Linked DNA regions of Homo sapiens: regions 1 and 3 are each linked to region 2. The links are contacts of gene promoters, found by promoter capture Hi-C in blood cells and fetal thymus (Javierre and others, 2016). All regions are on one chromosome and are shown on one strand. Each heading gives the region's core, a stretch centred on a gene start or on the middle of the fragment in contact. The rest is flanking DNA. Distances are from core to core; before and after follow the strand shown.

What was found. The method cuts DNA at HindIII sites, captures the fragments that hold promoters and counts their contacts. A CHiCAGO score of 5 or more calls a contact.
Region 1: a fragment that was not itself captured here is called in contact with the fragment with the promoter of CPLANE2 in region 2 in 1 of 17 cell types (activated CD4 T cells); the score reaches 5.1 in activated CD4 T cells.
Region 3: a fragment that was not itself captured here is called in contact with the fragment with the promoter of CPLANE2 in region 2 in 1 of 17 cell types (total B cells); the score reaches 5.7 in total B cells.

The regions. Positions count from the first base shown.
Region 1 is chr1:15,609,905-15,612,604 of GRCh38, forward strand. It overlaps the pseudogene CD24P1. Among named protein-coding and RNA genes, the nearest start is that of DDI2, 6.2 kb to the right of the region's middle. The HindIII fragment of the contact is 1,771 bases long and covers 444-2,214 here.
Region 2 is chr1:16,235,840-16,238,539 of GRCh38, forward strand. CPLANE2 (ciliogenesis and planar polarity effector complex subunit 2) reads right to left here and starts at 1,344. Exons shown (of 5, transcript NM_030907.4): 1 at 792-1,344. The coding sequence starts at 903. RefSeq lists an enhancer at 837-1,381 and a silencer at 1,222-1,401. The HindIII fragment of the contact is 3,895 bases long and covers 1-2,142 here.
Region 3 is chr1:15,697,925-15,700,624 of GRCh38, forward strand. All of the region lies in intron 1 of PLEKHM2 (pleckstrin homology and RUN domain containing M2), which reads left to right. Among named protein-coding and RNA genes, the nearest start is that of PLEKHM2, 15 kb to the left of the region's middle. The HindIII fragment of the contact is 4,369 bases long and covers 1-2,700 here.

The DNA.
Region 1 (2,700 bases), core at 79-2,578, 630 kb before region 2:
GGCTTCCTCACAGCATGGCTGCTGGGTTCCAAGAGCAAGCGTTCCAAGAGAATCACGGAGAAGCTGTACTGACTTTTTTTCAGCCATTGATTTATTTTTATTTGCAGTTTGTATTCAATACAAATCAATTTCATAACAAGTTACTATGAATCAAAGCATACACACACAAATATACAATCCAAAATAGATGTACAGCATTTCGGCATGGAGCAAAAGGGAGTGTTCATTCACACACACAGTGGAGTGGGTTCAGATCTGTTCCATCTGCTGTTCCCGTGTAGGTTTCTAAAGATGGAAAAAAAAAGACTACTGTGGCCATATTAGATGCTGGAACACATAAGCATCAGTGTGTGACCTTGTGAACAAAGGACTTCAGGGAGTGTCTATTTTTAAAAAGGTTTCTGTGTGTCAAGACAGTTGTAAACATTTTTATTACAGAATCAAGCTTACTTTGCGGTTTAGGACCAGGTTCTAACTATCTAAAAATATTGACATAACAAAATGTGTTTCAAACAGGGCATGATGGCTCATGTCTGTAATCCCAGCACGTTAGGAGATGAGGTAAGAGGATTGCTTGAGCCTAGGAGTTCAAGAACAGCTTGGGAACATAGAAAGACTCCTATTTCTACAAAAAGATAAAAATTCGCTGGGAATGGTGGCACACGCATGTAGTGCTAGCTACTTGGGAGGCTGAGGCAGGAGGATTGCTTTAGTCCACGAGGTTGAGGCCGCAGTGAACTCTAGCCTGGGTAACAGGGTGAGACCATGTCTCTTAAAAAAAAAGGCCCCAGCTGGGTGCGGTGGCTCACGCCTGTAATCCCAGCACTTTGGGAGGCTGAGGTGGGCAGATCACGAGGTCAGGAGTTCAAGACCATCCTGGCCAACATGGTGAAATGCCGTCTCTACAAAAAATACAAAAATTAGCGAGGTGTGGTGTTGTGCACCTGTAATCCTAGCTACTCGGGAGGCTGAGGCAGGAGAATCACTTGAACCTGGGAGGCGGAGGTTGCAGTGAGCCAAGATCGCTCCATTGCACTCCAGCCTGGGCGACAGAGTAAGACTCTGTCTCAAAAAAAAAAAAGCCCCAAAATGTGTTTTAAATGCAGCTATTCTGATCCATAGTTGTTGTTTGCAAAAAGCATTTACAGAAAAAGAGTATAGCCTGGGCACGGTGGCTCAGGCCTGTAATCCCAGCACTTTGGGAGGCTGAGGCGGGCAGATCACCTGAGGTCAGGAGTTTAAGACCAGCCTGACCAACATGGAGAAACTCCATCTCTACTAAAAATACAAAATTAGCCGAGCGTGGTGGTGCGTGCCTGTAATCCCAGCTACTCAGGAGGCTGAGGCAGGAGAATCGCTTGAACCTGGGAGGCGGAGGTTGCGGTGAGCCAAGATCATGCCATTGCACTCCAGCCTGGGCAACAAGAGTGAAACTCCATCTCAAAAAAAAAAAAAAGAAAGAAAGAAAAAGAAAAGAGTATAAAAGTTTTTGTGACTTTAATGCAAGTTAACTTTCAGTCTTTACTTTCCAAATACTTGATATACAGTTTTTGGCTCCTTTACATTTTTGCCCTTTTAATTTCAAGGTTTATAATTTTACCTTCAAAACAGATCTTTTTTTGTTTTTTGAGATGGAGTCTCACTGTGTCTCCCAGGCTGGACAGCAGTAGCATGATCTTGGCTCACTGCAACCTCTGGCTCTAAGGTTCAAGCAATTCTCCTATCTCAGCCTCTGAGTAGCTGGGATTACAGGCACACCACCATGCCCAGCTAATTTTTGTATTTTTAGTAGAGACAGGGTTTAATCTTGTTGGTCAGGCTGGTCTCGAACTCCTGACCTCAAGTGATCCACCTGCCTCAGCCTCCCAAAGTGCTGGGATTACAGGGGTGAGCCACCGCACCCAGCCCCTTAATGAATCTGGTGTCCTTGTTGAACGAAAATAGGTGAAATGAAATGCCTACCATTTGACTCTCTAAGGATAAACAAGAGTTATTGATGATGCTTGGACTTGGGGGTAGATTGCAGTCTATCATTGCCCTGGCACATGTCAATTACTAAATAAAAGGTCAAATGCAATGTCAAATCCAAATCCTCAGAGGAAAAAGAATTCAGTTACCAAAAGAACAGTGATAGCCTAACAATGTAAAACTTAATATATTGGCATTAAATTAGTACTGCTGAAATAATACATTGAGGATTTATAGAATGATGGAAGCTTTTTTTTTTTTTTTTGAGACGGAGTCTCACTCTGTCTTCCAGGCTGGAGTGCAGTGGTGCGGTCTCAGCTCACTGCAGCCTCCACCCTCCGAGTTCACACGATTCTCCTGCCTCAGCCTCCCGAGTAGCTGTAATTACAGACACTTGCCACCGTGCCCAGCTAATTTTTTGTATTTTTAGTAGAGATGGGGTTTCACCATCTTGGCCAGGCTGGTCTTGAACTCCTGACCTTGTGATCCACCCGCCTTGGTCTCCCAAAGTGCTGGGATTACAGGTGTGAGCCACTGCACCCAGCCGATGGAAGCTTTTTTAAACTTTAAGACAGGATCTTGCTCTGTCACCCAGGCTGGAGTGCCATGATAATGGCTTACTGCAGCCTTGACCTCCAGGGCTGAAGTGATCATCCTACCTCAGTCTCTTGGGTAGCTGTGACCACAAGTGTGTGACACCATGCCCACCTCTTTTTTTAAATTTGTGGGCCA
Region 2 (2,700 bases), core at 94-2,593:
CCGGCTAATTTTTGTATTTTTAGTAAAGATGGGGTTTCGCCATGTTGGCCAGGCTGGTCTTGAACTCCTGACCTCAGGTGATTTGCCCACCTCGGCCTCCCAAAGTGCTGGGATTACAGGCCACTGCGCCCAGCCTTCTAGAGGGTCATTTTTTGAATTTAATATAATTTCTTTTAAAAAAACAAACAAACAGTTGACTTATTCACAAATTTTGGTTCTAGCTATCTCACTCTCTGGTCTTAAGTCTTCTGGCACCTTGCTTCTCCTGGCCAGAGCTGGGCTCCACAGCTGATTCCAGGCACCTCTGCCGGCCTGACAGCTGGGCCCTGCCTGGGTGAGTCAGTTTCACCATGGGGAACACCAGCGTCTCATCCCAGAGACAGCAGGACATGGAAGAGGCTCACCTCTATTTATTGGGGTGTGATCTTAGCCAAGTCTGTACCATGTGCTGTTGAGAGGTTAAATGGGCGTGCACTGTGTAACGTGCCCAACAGAGGGCCTGGCACCAGGGGAGTGCTCAATCAACTGCATCTCTGGTGACAGTGGTTGCTGGCAAGGTTTCTGCTGTTTCCATGTTCCTGGCTCTGACGATGGAATTAGCTCTAAGGAGATTTAGGTGTGGGGGTCCCAGAGCTAGGGCTTTCAGTCCCCCAGGCTGAAGACTGCTGAAGACTGCAGTGGAGCAGGCCCTCACTGCCCTGCCTCTCTGCTCTCCTCAGGGAGCAACAGGTGACACTCTTCTCCCCAGGGAAAGACAAGTGGCGGGCTAGAGGAAAGGGGGAGGCACTTACCAAACACCCGCCGGCGGTTCTTGCGCAGAATGCAAGCCAGGTACTCCTTGCCCTCGGCACTCTCGTGCCAGTTTGGGACAACCACCGAACCGGGCACGGGAGGTCTGGCCATGGCTGGGCACCGCGACGGGGTAGGGAGGTGACAGAATGCTGAGAGCAGGGAGTGGGAAGGGGAGTGACAGTACCAAGCCGGGCCTGTGATCCCTCTTAACTGCCCTCTGACTCTCCCGGGGGGCCCCAGAAAGTGCAGTCCCTCAGCCGCCTCTCTCCTTCGCAATGCTCCCTGGGGATAGTCATCCCATTACTGCCCATGGAGGGTATTCACACAGCCCCTCTCCCCTTGTCACCTCCGGGGGTCAGACAGCCCCGCTTCTCCTCTACCTTCTAGATCCCGACTCCCAGGGCTACCTAGCCCTCCCCGTCAGCAGTCCCGGCGGCGAACCGACCTGGGTGCCGAAGGCCCCTTTAAACGCCCACCCGCACTCCCGCCGCCCCAGCCCGCCGGGCCCACTTCCGCCCCGCCTGCGTCCGCCTTCTGCGCGTGCTGGCAGCTCCGGCGCAGGTGCGCGCGGCGCATGTGCGGAGGTTGTTGCCATGGAGACGCCGGAGGTTGGGTTGGGCGGGTTCCGGGAGGCGTTCGTCCCTCCTACAACGTCCGCAGCCTGCGCCGCGCGGTGGCTCTGGACTAGGCCTTTTCCTCTGGGTTGTGGATCCTCTTCTCTATGACTCCGTCCGATCCCTAGTCTTTCTTCCAAAACATCATGAAACCCCCCCTCCAGGAGCCTTTCATGCTTCTCTGTGTCTCAGTTTCCTCTTCTATAACGTGGACGTAACATGTTATTCCCTCCATAGCAGTGCTCCATATGTTTAGTTATGATTGTTGCTATTATTAATATTATTGCTCTATTAATCCTGCTTGGCAGGACCTCTAGATGACTTAAACATCTCTGGCTTCACTGATGGGGACACACACCAGCTCAGAGAGGTCAAGGGACTTGGCTCAAGTTTTAAAAAATGAGTCAGAGGCCCGCTGGATTGTATTTTTCATTCATTCATTCATTCAACAAATACTGAGCACCTAGCTGGGAATACAGTGGCCAACAAGAAGTCCCTGCTCTCCTGGAGCTGACTTTTCAGCTCTGAAACTCTGAGCTCCTCTCCACCGTTCCAGCACTGGACACCAGGCCTGTTACCCAGAAGGTGGGTGCTCAGTAAATGCCCACTGGTTGGAAAGAGTGCAGGTGGGTCATTACTGAGAGTTTGTCTATTACATTTAATTTTTACCATTATCTTTCCGCAATGCCTTCAAGTAGGGCAAATCACTGTTTTGAAAGGAATAATTTAGGAGTTAAGCTTTACCTAAGGCCACCCAAGTGCCAGACAGTGGGGACTTTACAGGGGTCACCTGATTTAATTCTATAAACAAACCTGTGTAAATAGTATTACCCTCTTGTACTGACGAAGACTCTCAGAAACATAACGTGACTTGTCTGAGGTCACACCGCACAGCTAGTCAGTGTGAAACCGACTCAGAACCCACAGCTGGCTGGGTGTGGTGGCTCACGCCTGTAATCCCAGCACTTTGGGAAGCTGAGGCGGGCAGATTGCTTAAGCTCAGGAGTTTGAGACCAACCTGGGCAACATAGTAAGACCCTGCCTCTACAAAAAAAAAAATACAAAAATTAGCCGGGCACAGTAGTGCACGCCTGTAGTCCCAGCTACTTGGAGGCTGAGATGAGAGGATTGCTTGAGCCCGGGAAATGGAGGTTGCAGTGAGCCGAGATCATGCCACTGCACTTCAGCCTGAGTGACAGAGCTAGGCCCTGTCAAAAAAAAAAAAAAAAAAAAAAAAAGAACCCACACTTACCTGACTCTAAAGTACTTATCTGTTCTGCCAGTTTGGGTTTTG
Region 3 (2,700 bases), core at 119-2,618, 540 kb before region 2:
TAATGAGCAGTAATTTCGGAGGTGGGCAAAGAAACCTGTGCAATTAGCTGCTGTATTTAGTGGCAAATGAATGGTTAAGAAGCATTGATTTCACCAAACTTGCTTAAAGATCGATGCAGTCCCATGGTGGATAAACCCTTTATGACAGCTCTACACGTTGGGGGACTTTACCAGACCCAGGTTGCCACCCAGTCTGGGCACACGCCCTTCCTGGCTAGGGGCATTGACTGCCCTTCTAAGACATCGCTGAAGGACAGCATTTTTCTTTTTAATATTATTTTTATTTTTTATTTTTTATTTTTAGAGACAGGGTCTTGCTCTGTCACCCAGGCTGCAGTACACAACCATAACTCCCTGCAACCTCAAGCTCCTGGGCTAAAGCAATCCTCCCGCCTCATCATCCCAAGTAGTTGGGACTATAGGTGTGTGCCACCAGGCCTGGCTAATTTTTTAGTATTTTGTAGGGACAGGGGTCTTGCTATGTTGCCCTGGCTGGTCTTGAACTCCTGGGCTCAAGCGAACTTCCTGCCTTGGGCTCCCAAAATGCTGGGATTATAGGTGTGAGCCACCACTCCCAGCCAACAGCATTTTTGTTTTTCTTTCTTTTTCTTTCTTTCTTTCTTTCTTTTTTTTTTTTTTTTTTGACATAGTCTTGCTCTGATGCCCAGGCTGGAGTGCAATAGTGCAATCTTGGCTCACTGTAACCTCTGCCTCCTGGGTTCAAGTGATTCTCCTGTCTCAGCCTCCCAAGTAGCTGGGATTACAGGTGCGCACCACCACACCTGGCTAATTTTTTGTATATTTAGCAGAGACAGGGTTTCACCATGTTGGCCAGGCTGGTCTTGAACTCCTGACCTCAGGTGATCCACCCACCTCAGCCTCTCAGAGTGCTGGGATTATAGGTGTGAGCCGCTGTGCCTGGCCAACATTTTTCATATAGAGCAACTAGCCTCATTGTTTTTGAATTGCAAGATCTCTGATTGGTTCTTATGCGGGGGTGATTTCTGGGCTTTCTTGCTCTATAATTCACTATAATTTGATTGCCATTGAGAATGAAATATTTTCTAGGCTATGGTGCAGTGGAACCTCAGGTGAAGGATTTTAAAATTAGGGGAGTAGGCTTGACGCAGTGGCTCATGCCTGTAATCCCAGGATTTTAGGAGGCCAAGGCAGGAGGATCACTTGAGCCCAGGAGTTTGAGACCAGCCTGGGCAATATAGTGAGACCCCATCTCTATTATTTTATTATTGTTATTATTATTTTATACTTTAATTTCTAGGGTACATGTGCACAATGTGCAGGTTTGTTACATAGGTGTGCAGGTTTGTTACATAGGTGTACATGTGCCATGTTGGTTTGCTGCACCCATTAACTCGTCATTTACATTAGGTATTTCTCCTAATGCTATGCCTCCCCCTGCCCCCCACCTCACGATGGGCCCCAGTGTGTGATGTTCCCCGCCCCGTGTCCAAGTGTTCTCATTGTTCAGTTCCCACCTATGAAGGAGAACATGCAGTGTTTGGTTTTCTGTCCTTGTGATAGTTTGCTCAGAATGATGGTTTCCAGCTGCATCCATATCCCTGCAAAGGACATGAACTCATCCTTTTTGATGGCTGCATAGTATTCCATGGTGTATATGTGCCACATTTTCTTAATCCAGTCTATCATTGATGGACATTTGGGTTGGTTCCAAGTATTTGCTATTGTGAATAGTGCCACAATAAACATATGTGTGCATGTGTCTTTACCACATCTCTATTATTAAAATAAATAAATAGGAGAGTGGGCCGGGTATGATGATAAGGTGGGAGGATCGCTTGAGCCCAGGAGTTCAAGACTGGCCTGGGCAATATAGTGAGACTCCATCTCTATTATTATATTACATAAATATATTAATCTAGGAGAGTAGGCTGGGCATGGTGGTGTGCGCCTATAGTCCCAGCTACATGGAAGGCTGAGGTGGAAGGATTGCTTGAGCCCAGGAGTTCGAGACTGTAGTGCACTATGATTGTGCCTGTGATGAGCCACTGCACTCCAGCTTGGGCAACATAGTGAGCCCCCATCTCAAAAAAAAAAAACAACAAAAATAAAATTAGCAGTGTACATCGGAAGCATTGCAGTTCCCTGGGGCTGGTGAAGCGGCAGGCACCCAGCAGCTGAAGCCTCTGTTGACATCTCATGTTGTCTAGGAGGGAAGCAACTGGGACATTCCTGATGTGGTCCCCTAAATCCTGCAGAGCCCCATCGCTGAAGCCCTGGGGATAGCCCATGGCCCCTGCTGCTCTGCCCTGCTCAGTTTTTTGTTTTGTTTTGTTTTTTTAATTTTATTTTTAGAGACAGGGTCTCGCTCTGTCACCCAGGCTCGGATGAGCACTTCTGGGGTGGTGGCAGCTGATGTCCTGACTGCTTTATCTCCAGGTGGGATGAAGCAGAAGGAGCTCCAGAAGTAGCTACCCCTGTGTGTGAGCACACCTGGCCAAGACTCTGCAGTACAGTAGTAGGACGCTGGCCAGAGCTAGGGTGTGCAGGAAGTGCCCCTGTCTCCCTGGGCTCCGGTCTCCCTGCCTATAAAATGAGGGTTGTGGCTAAGTGATTATTTTTCTGATTTTCATTACATTCAGTAGTCAGTTTCATTCACTGATAACTTCTCCCTCTCCCTCTCCTTAACTCCAACTCCCTTCACACACCCTTCTGCACAGG